Linked DNA regions of Homo sapiens: region 1 is linked to region 2. The links are contacts of gene promoters, found by promoter capture Hi-C in blood cells and fetal thymus (Javierre and others, 2016). All regions are on one chromosome and are shown on one strand. The core of a region is centred on a gene start or on the middle of the fragment in contact, and the rest is flanking DNA. Distances in the headings are between cores, read along the strand shown.

Evidence for each region. Contacts are between HindIII fragments. The CHiCAGO score rates a contact against its expected background, and 5 or more counts as called.
Region 1: the fragment with the promoter of TFG here is called in contact with the fragment with the promoter of CLDND1 in region 2 in 2 of 17 cell types (total B cells and naive B cells); the score reaches 12.1 in total B cells.

What each region holds. Positions count from the first base shown.
Region 1 is chr3:100,705,709-100,712,973 of GRCh38, forward strand. TFG (trafficking from ER to golgi regulator) reads left to right here and starts at 3,786. Exons shown (of 8, transcript NM_006070.6): 1 at 3,786-4,013. RefSeq lists enhancers at 3,354-4,245, 4,246-5,136 and a silencer at 3,883-4,112. The HindIII fragment of the contact is 12,148 bases long and covers 1-7,265 here.
Region 2 is chr3:98,517,572-98,524,477 of GRCh38, forward strand. CLDND1 (claudin domain containing 1) reads right to left here and starts at 5,331. Exons shown (of 5, transcript NM_001040181.2): 1 at 5,278-5,331; 2 at 3,562-3,871; 3 at 1,314-1,424. The coding sequence starts at 3,853. It overlaps CLDND1-AS1 (CLDND1 antisense RNA 1), which reads left to right and starts at 4,999. Exons shown (of 2, transcript NR_198998.1): 1 at 4,999-5,262. RefSeq lists silencers at 4,778-4,887, 4,938-5,577 and an enhancer at 6,780-6,906. The HindIII fragment of the contact is 2,905 bases long and covers 4,514-6,906 here.

The DNA.
Region 1 (7,265 bases), core at 2,536-5,035, 2.2 Mb after region 2:
TAGGGGCTCACCCCAATGACCTCGTTTTAACTTAATCACCTCTTTAAAGAATCCATCTCCAAATACAGTCACCTTTTGAGGTGGTTCAATATATGAATTCTGGGGGAAGGATGCAATTCAGCTCACAATTGCATTTCTCTTTCAACTTGAAATCTGACAGGTAATTTAGCAGAGAGGTAACTTAGCACTGTCTCCAGGGGATGTAAATGAAGAAAAGTGAATGATTTCAAATTACTAAGAGACAAATCCTACATGGCTAGGGAGTTAGGAACTTACCCGTTGACAGCTGATCCTTTTGTTTTTTCTGGGAGCTTGCCCTGTAAAGTGGTGGGGAACTTAGTTTTCATTATTTTATTCAATAACTATGTATTGAATGTCTAGATCAGCCTCTAGTGATACAAAATCTAGGAAGAACTGCCTTTGAGAGTAGTTTCTCTAAAGAGAGATTGGACATAGAGCATCATGGTAAGGCAAAAGCATTTTAGGGATTTCACGGATGTGAAGCTGGTAGGACAGGTTGAAGTATTTTGCTTAGCTAGTGCTAAGAATCACTCACTCAAAGGTACAAAGTAAGAAATCGTTCCTTTCTCCTTCATTATCTCTGCATAGGGTGGCAGCTTCCTATGTTCACACAAGCAAATCTTTACATTTAGCCAGTGAAGGTGAGGCTGAGCTGACTAGCTGGCTCCTGTTTGGTCCTCATGATTCCCCTTCTGTTTGGAGTTCTCTTTTTTTAGCTAGCTGCTGCCACAACAGAGCTGATTCTTGGCAAGGGACATAACTTCTCGTTGGAAATTCTCATCCAAGGAGGAATGTACACGCTTTCCTTTGTTCTTCTGAGGACATATAAGATGACTCAAATTTTCAAAATGATTTATACTAAGTACTAAAGAAGAACATGATGAAACATAGATTTTATCTAACTTGCTAACAGGGCTCATAGTCTTTGTCTCATTTCTTGTCCAGTCTGAGAATCCCGTTTTCATTCTTAGGATTTTTTCCCCCCATTCCATGTGAGGAGTTTTAGCTACACAGACTTTCAGGGAGAAAGAGCAGGTGGTAGCTAAGTTGGTTGGTTGACTCCTTCTCTTAAAATCACAGTGTAAGTCTTAACCCTTCTTCAGATGAAACATGGAAAATAACCTGTGTAGTGCAGAATCTCATATCTTTCCTTGCTACAGTCTGGGTCAAAGATATTTCCTTGCACTCCTTCTCCTTCCTTCACATATCCTCAACTTTAATATACTACCATTAAGCAGTATTTTCTTTTCTTTTTTTTCTTAGCAGTTCCTTGGAAGAAATGAGTAGTATTTTCTAGTTCAAGACTATGCTCAGTGTTCATTTAAAACCAAATTCATCTAGATGCAGAAAAGAAGGCCAGTATGTATCTACAGACATAGTAGAAGAGACCCATCTTCTTGTAAGTGAGGTAACTGGTTCAATTCAGGTTATGGCTCTGTCACTAGATATCACCTGTATTTATTGGGAGCTTAAGTACATAGATGTGCATCAGCTTCGACTTGAGAAATCACCAGAACCCCACCTCTCAAGTTCCACAGAAGTAGCTGGGAATAGGCTTTACCATAAAGAAGACTTTACTGATGGCTTCGGGATGAAGCATGAGGGAAATTACAACATAAAGAGCCTCAAGTTGCTTTCGGAGTCCATGAGCTCCATGAGCTCCAGCTTTTCCACAAGGCCAGCTTATGGGTGCCTCTCTTCCTAGCGTACAGATGACCACAGTGTAACAGGGACCAGCTTATTTCTCCTCAGTAGCAGGACTCTTGAGTGCCCCCTCACTGGGGATCCTCAGCAGATACTCTTTTCACCTTATAATAGGCCAAGGTTCACCTCCTTATCTCCTGCCTCAGGATCTGACCTCTTTTTAGTTTAAATATACTACTATAACAGTAGTATAATTCACTTCCTTCAGGGAATATTTTACCTTTGCCATATGGTTGTGGTTTTACCCCATCCCAAACCATCTTAATGACATCATAATACTATTATCTGACAGCAGTGCATCTCCCCAAATCTGTATTATTCAGTTTTAAAAAATAAGCAATGAATAACATTCTTTGGAGAGCAATTAGGAACTGTTTTTCATTTCTTCTGCAGTACTCCACTCCCTTATCCCTGCAAACAATTGCTCAAAGGTCAATACAACTGTTGGAAAATACAAATCAGAAGTGAACAGTGTAAACTTACATTATTTCACTCTCAAACAGAAGTTTCAGAGACTTATAACTGAAAAAGATCACACTACTTATGGTTGTAAAAGAACGTAGCTTCTCACCCTGAAACACCAGAATTTACTCCAGGTCCTTTAGGAGTATCTGGTGTTAAAGCAAACTAAATATGGCCTGAGAAGGACTCCATACATCTATACTTGAATCCTTGTGGATGAACTGTAACCTAGCTTAACAGACAAGATTGAAAACCTAACTTAGAAGTATGCGTCTCTTACAATAAGCGAGTCTTGGCCAATTCCAGCCGCCACACTTCAATCACTCATAGACTGCTAAGTGTTCAAATAAGGCCAACGCCAACCTGTAACCAATCCAGCTGTTTCTGTACTTCACTGCCAATTTCTGTACCTCATTTCCCTTTTTTTGTCTATAAATCTTCCACCACGTGGCTCTGCTGGAGTCTCTTAATCTGCTGTGATTCTGGGGGCTGCCCAATTCGTGAAATCGTTCACTGCTCAATTAAACTCCTTTAAATTTAATTCAGCTTAAGTTTTTCTTTTATAACTGGTAAACAACTGGAGACCAGGTAGGGTCTAAATGCTTTATTTATCAGCTTAGTCTCCACCTTAGAAGTGACAAACATTCTCCGTTTGGCCAAACTTCGGGCTCCTGGGCCTTCTCCTAGGACCATCTGTGCATCTTCTTGTAAAACTCAGTTTCAGCAAAGAACCTTGTTAAGGCAGTGTAGTGAGAATCCCTCACCCTTGATGGGGTTCCTCATCCTCCACCACCCCCAGGTGATGTCTGCTATCCTGGCCTATCTTCGTCTAGAATCCTGTTGTGTTGGTTTAGCCAGAATCTCCCTTGCCCCTGATATTTCCTCTTAGTAATTTTCCATCCACTGACCGACTTCCACCCCTTGGCTATAAATTCCTACTTACTCATACTGTATTTCTATTTGAACAGGTAAGGGAGAAGGGAAGAGTACGTAGGACACACTCAAATGCCTTATCCTCTAAAAATCACTCAGGAATCTTTAGCCTTAATTTCCCAGCTTTTGTCCTTTACACAGTTACAGATTTTCCTTGCTCATAAACGCTGTAGGTCTTCCCTGCTTAATTGGAAACTCCTTGCTCACAAAATGATTCACCCCCATTCCTAGAACCGGGCTTGGCAAAGCATAGGCTCCCAATAATGAATGAATGGATTTATAGAAGAAAAGGTTTTTTCTTTTTCAGCTGTTACTACAATGGTCAACAATAACGACAAAAACCACTTAAAGTTGGACAGACGTCTACTGCAACCAACTCTCAAAAAGTTTAGAACAGCGCACTACGCCCCGCCCATTGGCGAGAAACGGAAATACCCGCTTTCGAGAAAACCGGAAGTGCGTGGTCACGCCCCGCGCATGCGTGCATCGGGGCAGCTCACGCTTCCTAAATCCCGTCATCCAGTGAGAAAGCAGGGACTCTTCGGCCTAGGCAGCCGGGACCCAGCCAGCCCTGCGCCTCGCGCCGTCGCGCATGCGTCCTGGGTATGTCCACGCGCAATAAGGAGGGGCGAAAGGACATTTTTTTTTTTCTTGCTCCCGCCTCTGTTCTTCCCCCACCTGCCACGTACAGAGCCCAAGTTCTCGCTAGGCTTGTTGGGTCAGCGCGATTGGCCGGGGCCCGCGCGAGCCTGCGAGCGAGGTGCGGCGGTCGCGAAGGGCAACCGAGGGGGCCGTGACCACCGCCTCCCCGCGACGCCCCAGTCCAGTGGCCTCGCGTCCGCCCATTCAGCGGAGACCTGCGGAGAGGCGGCGGCCGCGGCCTCCGCAAGCCGGTATGGCCACTGGAGACGGGGGTTGCGGGCGCTCTGTCCGAGGAGGCCGGGAGACTAGGAGGCGCTGGGAGGGCCTCGTTCGAACCGCGCGGCAGCTGGGGTCGGAGGCACTGTGGGAAGGGGCTGGAGGGAGGAGGGGGTGGGAGGGAGGAGGGGGTGGGAGGGAGGACGAGGCCGGGGGGGAGGGCGGGCGGGGCCTTGCATGGGGGGAGGGGAAGGGAGGTCGCGGAGGGGGAGGGGAGAGAGGCAACCCCTGGCTGCGGTGGCCAGGAGGCGCGCCTGGGGGGCTCCGGGAGGGGAGTGCGCCAGCTAATGCCTTGGTGCAGCCTGCCTCCAAGCGTTTGGATTGAGAGGAGAGGGGCTTTGGGAGGTTTGGGGCGGCCGGCGCCCAATACCCGAAGGAGCTCGGAAGGGTGTGGAGTGGCGCCTACGGGAATAAGTTGATTGGGGTCATAGAATCGGAGCCTAGTTCCTTGGCTAAGTCAGCGCTTAATCAAGCGCCGGCTGGAGGCCCAGCCTGGTTTATAGTGATGATTCTAGCTAACTTTAAGAGTTTGCTTTGCTGGACACTACAGTAAGTATTTTGGATGCACTGTCTCATTTAATCATCACAAGGATTCCTCCAAATTCAGATATGGTTGTTTTCATTTCGAATGTGATGAAAGTGAGCCTTGGAGGACTTAAGATCACATAGCTAGTAGTGAGAATCTTTACCGTCTTGCTGCACTGCCTTTGAGGCAGGGTTTGAGGCCTCTTGGCATTCTTTAGAATAATTACAGGTTGACTTGGCTTAGTATTTCTTGAAGGAAACTGCTCCCCTCAGGAGGTGCTTAAGCCACAGCCTCTGAAATTGAGCAGGGTCTTACCCTTAGAGGTAGTAGAACCAGAAGTTTGTCCGCCGAACCTAGAACCTGGTTCAGGAGGCAGGCTTTTTATATGACCTTGGGCGTGTCAGATTATTCCCAGTGCTGAGAAAAGTGTACCTGGTAGAGGGTTATATTATACAAGTTAGAAGCCGAGTCATTTCTGGACTTCAGAGGGGGCGGGGCAAGGACAAGATGGGAGAAGAGCTTGTCGTAGGGCTCCTACTGGCAGTTCTAGGAACTAGTTAATACCAGTCTCTACTTTGGAAGAGAAAATGAGTACCAGAATTCTGTATGTGAAGTAATGTTGGGTTGGGATTTCCCCTTGAAGGGAAAGTTTTGTTGCACACTTACTTTTGAGATACTTTTGTGTTTACTCTGGGGAGATGACTGCAAGAGCAAACGACAGCTTTAGGAAAGAAGCACTGGTTCCTGGCCACAAGATGTTTACAGTCAATAGGAAACACAAAAAGTGAATTTGCAGGTAAACACGGCAGATAGAAAGTATACGTGACTCAATTTTTTTTTTTTTTTGAGACGGAGTCTGGCTCTGTCGCCCAGGCTGTAGTGCAGTGGCGTGATCCCCCAGCTCACTGCAACCTCCGCCTCCCGGGTTCAAGCGATTCTCCTGCCTCAGTCTCCTGAGTATCTGGGATTACAGGCGTGCGCCACGACAACTGGCTCATTTTTGTATTTTTAGTAGAGACAGGGTTTCACCCTGTTGATCGGTCTGGTCTTGGACTCCTGACCTCGTGATCTGCCCGCCTCGGCCTCCCAAAGTGCTGGGATTACAGGTGTGAGCCACCGTGCCCGGCCCTCAAATTTTAAATCCATTGAAATTGGGCAACAAACCCGTACCCCAGTCAGAAGGACATACCATCAATTATCTTCAAAGCTGGAATTTTTTTCTTAATTAGGAGTGTGTCTGATGGAAGTCACTTCTAGCTACATAAAGAAGGTACAGTGTGAGGGGTCGGATGTAAAAACTGATCTATATTACAGCTTTCTTCTCCCATAATTAAAAAATTTAAACAAAGTCTTTAAATTCTATATGTCAGGCACTTTTCTAGGTGCTGCTGGGAATAGATAGTACCAGCTCACTGAAGCTAAGCACTGGTTCCTTTTACATTATTGCTGGTTTACACTTCTTGTAGGAAGGAGAAGGTAACAAATACATTGATTTATTGAAAGGTCTTTATTACTCTTAGGCTGCCAGAGCAAGCAAGATGGAATATTTACCATCTTGGTGAAGTAATTATACTTTAGAGTTGGCACATAGTAGGTATTTAATAAGTAGTTCCTGAATACCGAAAGCATTGCAGAAGGCATTGCAGAAGGCGAAGAGTTGGTTGTGTGGAGATTTCTGTTAATCACTGTCTTCACGAGAAGTCCATTGTGAGAACTGGCAGATAAAAAGCTAACTGTATTCTTATTTTGCATTAAGATAAGCATGGCATCCCTAGAGTGGAATGCAGTTCACTCTGTTCTGCATTGACCTTAGAGTGTTATATTTAGTTTTAATGACCCATTTCATTGAAGATTTATTAATAAAATATCTGTTGAGAGCATGGTGAGGGGTCTAGAGATATTAATTTAAGGACTAGTTAGATGGAAGGACCTAGCGTATTTATATGAAGAATAGTAGGGCATTAATATATAATATTCATATAATAGGATTCATGAAAACTTTTTTGAAGTACTTGAAGGGTTGATATGTTGGGGGAGTAGGTGAGTGCTTTCACATACCCCGAAAGAATAAAGAATAATTGCAGAGAAGTGTGGTGTTAATGAAATAACAGATTTAAGAGGAGGAAGCAGAAAGCTGCTAGTAGTAAGGCGGGAAGTTGAAACTAGAATGTGGCCAGTAGTAGTTTGTAGGATACCTTGAAAAGTCTCAAGAGATCATTTTCTTGGGGCAGGAGGAGGAAGGAGTTATGCTTGGAAAATGTTCAGCGATTATAGATAACATTCAGGAACATCTTGGCCTTGAGAAGAAGAGATATTAATCCATTATTTTTCCCTTTATTTAATAGCTGTTGAATGACTGTTGTCTGCTAGGCACTGTTGTAGACTCTGGGAATATGGAAAACATAATCGTTTACTTCCTACCATCAAGTGGAAAAGACAATAAAATGTTATAAATTTTTAATGTCTGGTAGTGTTAAGTGCTTTGAAGAAAAATAAAGCAGGATAAGAAGATAATGCCAGGGGAGCCATTTTAAATTAGATGGTTAGGAAAGATCTCTCTCAGTTAACACTTGATAAGGAATCTGAATCATATGAGGGGTATCAGAAAGGGTCAAGACAAAGGGAAAACTTGAAGTATGGGAATAGCAGGGGTGAGTGAAGAAGAGAGGTAGGAAATGAAGTTAAATACTTGGCCAGGGAC
Region 2 (6,906 bases), core at 4,081-6,580:
ACAAATATATAGTATAACAACTATTTACATAGCATTTATATTGTATTGGGTATTATAAGCAATCTAAAGATGATTTAAAGTATACAGGAGGATTGTGTAGGTTATATGCTAATATTATGCCATTTTATATAAGGTACTTTAGCAACCTTGGAATTAGCAGGGGGTCCTGAATCCAATCCCCCATAGCTACAGCTGTATTATTATTAATTCCATTTTGTAATTAAGGAAACTGAGGCAAGAGTCATAAATAACTTGTAAAAATAACACAGTAAGTGGTAGAGCCAGGATTTGATACAAAAATCAGTCTGACTCTACCTACCAACAATATCTAGGTCTTTATATGATCTAAAGGCAGTAACAACAAGTAAATTAATGGTAATTATAAATGACCTGTCTTATAGGGCTGTTGAAGAATATATATAAAGCACAAAGCAGAGAATCTAAAGGTAGTTTTAATTATCATAAATCTCTCATCAACATGGGAAGAAAACCTGATGACCTCACAAAACATGCCATTCCATTTTCCAATAATATTCATTATTAGAAATGCATTCATATCAATCTTGACTAAACTTTACACCTTTTGGTGCTGGTTTTGCTTTCTGGAACTTCTTATGTGTTTTTCTAACTTACTTTCTTTCAAACTCTCCTAGTAATAAACTGCTTGCTACACATTCTCTTTATAAAACTGAATACCTACCTCTTATTCAACCTTTTCTCTTACAACATGGTCATTCTTCTGGGCAAGTCCCTATAGCCCTGAAAACTGAGGCTCAAATCTGAAGACAGTATTTCATGGGCTGCCTGACCATCAGGGAATAGGTTGTTCCTAATAAATACTTTCATCTTTTTTGACATCTACCCTTTTGTTACTATCACCTAAGACTGGATAAACACTTTTGACAGGCCTGACAACTCACTGACTCATTTAGAGCTTGCAGTAAACTTTTTTCACATATACTTACCTGAACTCAAGCAGTGGAAAGTGTTTAATTCAAATATAGGAATGTATAAGTTATCTCAACTAAATTTCCTTTTACTAAATGGGCCCATTAATAACATCTTTTGAAGGTCTAGATCCCATCATCCAATGAAGTAGTTGGCCCTGTCAACTTCAAATCATTTGAAATTTGGTAAGCATGTATCTACCTTCTAAAATATCAACAGAATAGAGTTCACTGGATACTGTTAGAGATTTTATTTCACGTTGGCACAATCTACTAACTCATCTTATTCCAAAAACATAGTCCAAAAAGAGACAAATAAAATTATCTTTGTTCCCCCAACTGTCCTGGTGAAATCAAAGTACTCACAGGTCCTAAGGAGATCAATCCCGCTATTGTGGTTTCCGGGATCAACAAATTTCTCCATGAACTGCTCAGTTAGTGTGAAACTCACACATTTTGTGACCACATCAAATGACTCTGGAACAAGAACAATTGCCTGTTGTTTTAATTATAAACATTTAACAAAAATCTCTTTCAGTAATTATTCTCTGAAGTAAAACAGTAAAGGATGTTTCCAGAGGGGTCAGCAACTTCTCTGGCCCTGACTGACACACAGGTTTCATAGATGTCCAATGGATGCCACTGGTTCTCAGTGGCAGGCTGAAGACATAGGCACAAGGAAGAAAAATAAAGTGGAAGCAGTAAAATGAATGGCAGAATAGCTATGTAGAAAGCCTAGGAAGAAGGGGAGGGAACAAAGACTGAAATAAATAGGAATGTTGATCTTCTCATGCAACCGTGCTTTATCAACCATATTCCCATCTCAGGGAATGCCAAATCCACACTTCCAGTTCCTCAGACCAGAAACTTTAGAGTAATTCTTGTACATTTACACTCCATCAGGAAATCCCAGGAATTCTTCCTTCAAACTATGTCCAGAATCCAGCTGCTGCTCAGTGCTACCATTCTGGTGTGAGTCATAATCATCACTTAACCTGAATTACTTCTATAACCTCCTAACCATAGTCTTCTAGTTTCCACCTTTGTCTGCTGCCTCTGTTCTCACAACAGCCAGGGTGACCAGATCAGGGCTCAGCACTGTATCTGGAGTCAACACCAAAGTTCTCATTCTGCCTAGAGTCCTCCAGGATTTGCCCCAGTCCCACTCCCAAAGTAGGTCTTTAACAGCATACCCAACTTCCCGTCTCTCCCTCCATTCCAGCCCAGTGGCTTCCTTACTGGTCCTTGAATATTTCAGGCATGCTCCCGCCATAGAGCCTTTGCAGTAGATGTCCTTTCCAACCTAAATGACTTCCTCCCCATTTACCCATATGGCCAACTCTTTTGTCTAGTCTTTAACTACATTCTTTACTCAAGTGGTGTCTTCTCAATGAGACCTACTTTAAGTATCCTATTGAAAATCATAACCTATGGCCACCAATATTCCTTTTCCCACATATTTCCAAATCCCTTTTGTGTTCTATTTTGCCATAGCACATGTCATCTTTTAACATACTGAATAATTATTTATTCTGTTTATACTGTTATATTCTGTTCACTGCCTGTCATCCTTTATTAGAATGCTAGCTCCCCAGGAGTAAGGATTTTGTTCTTTCCTGATGTTCTCCCAGCTAAGAGGCCCTGGAACATGGAGACATGCAATAAATTATTTGTTTAATGAATGACTAAATGGTAACACTCCAATTCCAACTCCAATTTCAATATCAAGTGCTCCTGTAACCTCATAAGTCAAACTGAACATTTTACAATGAATTTTAACCAACTTTCTCTCCTTTCCTTCCAAATTATCTTTTTTTCCAGATACAGTGACATATTATCATCCTTTTGATATATCATAACTCAAGCCTGTTCTGCTATGATTTGAATACAATGCTTCCCCACTAAGGGGCCAACAGAAGTAGTCATAAATAAACTGTAAAGTTGTTCCTTACAAAGAGTTCTAAAGCTACCATTTTAATAACTGGAAATCAAAATCTTTAAGTGTTAAATAAGAATGCCTGTAAAATAAACCTAAAAATCTAGTTTTTGGTTTTTTTTTTTTAACTTCTGTAATACAAATTTCTTAACCTACCAACTCTGCATCAAGATTGTTGTAAAACAGTCTCATAATTACACAGATTAAATGTAGAGCTGGTCAAATTATATCCTCTAAGACACAGGGGCAAATGATAGATATGTATTATAATACAGCTAACCCATAAAAGGACAATTTTTTGAGTTGATTTTCGATGGTAGTCCTTTTACTAGTTACCAAATATTTTTAAAAGTCTTTCGATGTACTTTTCCAACTATTTCTTTATAACATGTGTTAGAGTAATGAAAAGTATTTTAATGAGTGAGTAAATAAGAAAAAAAAAAGCCATTAAGGCTTTCCCAAGATAAGAAAAGTTCCTCATCCAACCAATATTGATGAGTACCATGGTAATGCAAAGAAGTTGGGGAGAGAAGGCAGTAGAAAGAGAAGATACACGATTTATTTCTTTAAGGAGAGAGAGAACCAACAAACCTGCTTACATGTAATTGGGCAATCATTACGTCGTTTTGTCTATTATTAACCAGGTGAAGAAGACAGAAGTTAAAATAAGAGAAATACCTGTCCTTTCTGGTGGGCTATACCAATGCATGTTTTTGGGTATGGTGATACACCGTCTCCACAATCCCACTGTGCCATTGTATCGAAAAAGTGCATCATTATAAGTCTTTTCATCTGCCTCATCACTAATGAATTCATCCCAGATGCTTTTATTCAAATCACTGGAATTTTCTTGAACTGGACTTCGATATTCATACCAGAAGTCTGTGCCAATGGAGGCTGCCATGTAGATGGTGGAAATGAGGCTAAGCACACAAGCAATTACAAATGCTGTAGCAAAACGGTTATCCATTCTGGCATTCAGACTGCTCTGTTTAGAAGTTGAAGAAAGAAGATAAGTTAGAGTTTACGGACAAATAAGAAAGATTATTTTGAATTATTCCAAATGCACCCTTTACCCAATTCCCCATCCCTTCGTACATATAACCATTAAGAATTTTTTTTAGAAAGCAAGCATGTTTTTAATTAAGCTTAAAACAAAACTCATTCTCATAAAAGTACTTATTGAATGCTCACATACCCAGGATGCTACGGAGACAGAGGTCTTGTTCTCTAGTCTATCACCTGCATACTAAAACAGACAACACTGAAATGGACATACACATTACAGATACAAACAATAGACATGCCCATGGTCAGCAGTGTACCGTGCACACATTTTAAATTACAGACTGAATTTTTGCACGAGCTGCAGAGGATTAAGTGTTCTGGGTTTGAGTGTTAAAAAGGCACAGGAAAAAGAAGCAGTGGAAATTGGCTTCTCCCAGTTTCCTCTGAAGAGGGAAGCCTCCTAAAACAAAGGTAAGAGTCAGGAGCCATACAGAAAACAGAGTTGAAGATGTTTGTTAACCCCGAGGGAAAGGTTGTTCTAGGTGTATAAAATAGCAAAGAGAACAATAACATGTAATAATGCTAGATAGCAATCTCTCCCTAATCCATTAAAGCTAAGCCAAGCTTCTTTACGCTGCCAAATGCTTCACTCCTATCTACTCTCCCGATTCCTTATACTTCTGAACCTCCTCAACAGAAATCTTGCTCTCTCCCTAAATCCTCAGTGCAACATACGTCCGCAAAAACTAAATGATCCCTCCTCAGCCAGACAGAAAACTCTCAACATATCAACACTCCCAAGGCGTGGACAGGGCTCAACGGCAGTAGTAAATGGCCGCGGTAAAATGACTCAAGGCAGATCGCGCTGAGTCAAATACTACACGGCAAGTATACACCGTGACCGCACCAAACACCTTACAAAGGTTCATGAAAACAGACTCGCAAACTGGGGTTGCTGAGTTTGGAAAATGGGAAGTGACTCAGGAAAGATAAGAGCAATGACAACGAAAACTCAAAAAGTTGGATTTGTATTTTGATTTTTTAAAAATCCCCCCTTCATCCTGGTGCTCTCAAATGACCTTAAAGGGTCCCAGCACTGGGAACGGCGGTTCGTCCAAGCCGGACGCCTGCAGCAGCCACCTCCTGGGCCTCACGGCGGGGCCGGAGAAGGCCAGGGCTGGGGCGGGGCAGCCGTGCTCGGCCCCGGGCCAGGGTCCCCCGGTACCCGACCAGGCCCCGCCCTAGAGGGCTCGGCCCTGGGACAAATCCGCCGCTCGGAACCCGCCCAGCCCGACCACGCCCGGGAAGGGGGCCCCTCTTCAAACCGCCGGGAACATGGAACCGCGACGCGACCCCTGCCCGGCGACGCAGGTCCCGCTCACTCACCGCCCATCCTCCTGCTCCGCCAGCTTCACCCTCTAGCTCAGACCACAGCACCCTACTCTCCCCGCGCCTCCTCTGACGCACTTCCCTGCAGAGCCCGCCCCCTCCATAACTCCCGCGCCTCCGCCCGCCCCCACTCCGGGCCGGGCCGCGGCCCGGGGCCGAGGGGCCTTGTGGGAGTTGTAGGAGGGACAGACTGAAAGCTGTCTGAGGCGGCGATAGGCATTCCTGGCGCCGCGCGCGGCGCATTGTGGGAGATGTAGTTCAGCTCCTCAGGGCAAGCCGGTACGCAGAAGGGAAGTCTAGGCTGTTGGATTCTTGCATTTTAGGGAGGAAGGGAGAATGGTCCAGAAAGTAAAGCGGGCCTGTTTCCGGTCATCTCGAGTCAATGACCGTGACTTGTATAACTTAGATCTGACTTTTAGGCCTGTGCTTTCCCTATCACACCACCCTGCCTCTAGATCTAAGTATAAATGAACAAAAATGGGATTCTACTTGTGAAACGTTGACCCATTTTATTTCCCTCTCCCAGAATCCCTCCCATTGGAGCAGAGCATCCTTCTGGTTTTATTGCATAAGTTTAGGCTAAGAAGTATGTGACCTGGCAGACAGTATCCATCAAGAATGTAATGATATTATTTGGGTTTCATAAAATGTGTTTGTAGCTGCCTTCTTTTTATGACAAGTGATACTAGTTTTCTATTGCAGCAATGTTGTTCCTTTTAAATTCTTTTCACTTATTTTAAAAACTATTAAGTTAATAATACTGAGGATACCAGATATGTCAAAAAATGAATAAAAAATTGTGGGTATAGTAGGAAAAAGACTGAAATTTGGGGAACATCACTCAAGCAGATAAGGTCATGGACAGCATTGGAGATTGCAGATGATGTGTGGCACAGGGGCAACAATGATTCTGAACCCTCAGGTTTAACACAGAAATTCATGGACAGGAAGCAGGGACATCTTAACAATAACATGAGTGGAACTATTAACGTGGCCTGGGACCAGCAAATGGTGGATTTCTCAACAGTAACCGACAGAGAAAGCTGACTCAAGGACCAGAGGGGCTCTCAAACCCCCACTCTGTCCCCTAATGCCTTGTAATTTAGCATAGGAGAAAGATGGGAGCTGCAAGTTGATATTAAATTTCTACCACTTTGACAGATTAAAGGCATGATATGTTTCTCTATCTGTACTTACATTTCTTTGACCTGAGTGGGTGAAACTGATATTCATATGCAGCACATAATAAGGTAGTAGCCAAATATATTCAAACATGACTCTGGATTTTCATATACAGCATATAATCAAAAAAAAATTTGTCAGAGGCACCAACTAGAGAAAGTGATGGAGAGGCACAGGCAAATTGTCAATGTGTAGTAAGACACATAAATGCCCTTATACTCCAGGAAATGTCTTCATCCATTGGCCTTCATTAGAAATCCCCTATTTTCCGCCGGGCATGGTGGCTCACGCCTGTAATCCCAGCACTTTGGGAGGCCGAGGCGGCAGATCACGAGGTCGGGAGATCGAGACCATCCTGGCTAACACGGTGAAACCCCGTCTCTACTAAAAATACAAAAAAATTAGCCAGGCGTGTTGGTAGGCGCTTGTGGTCCCAGCTACTTG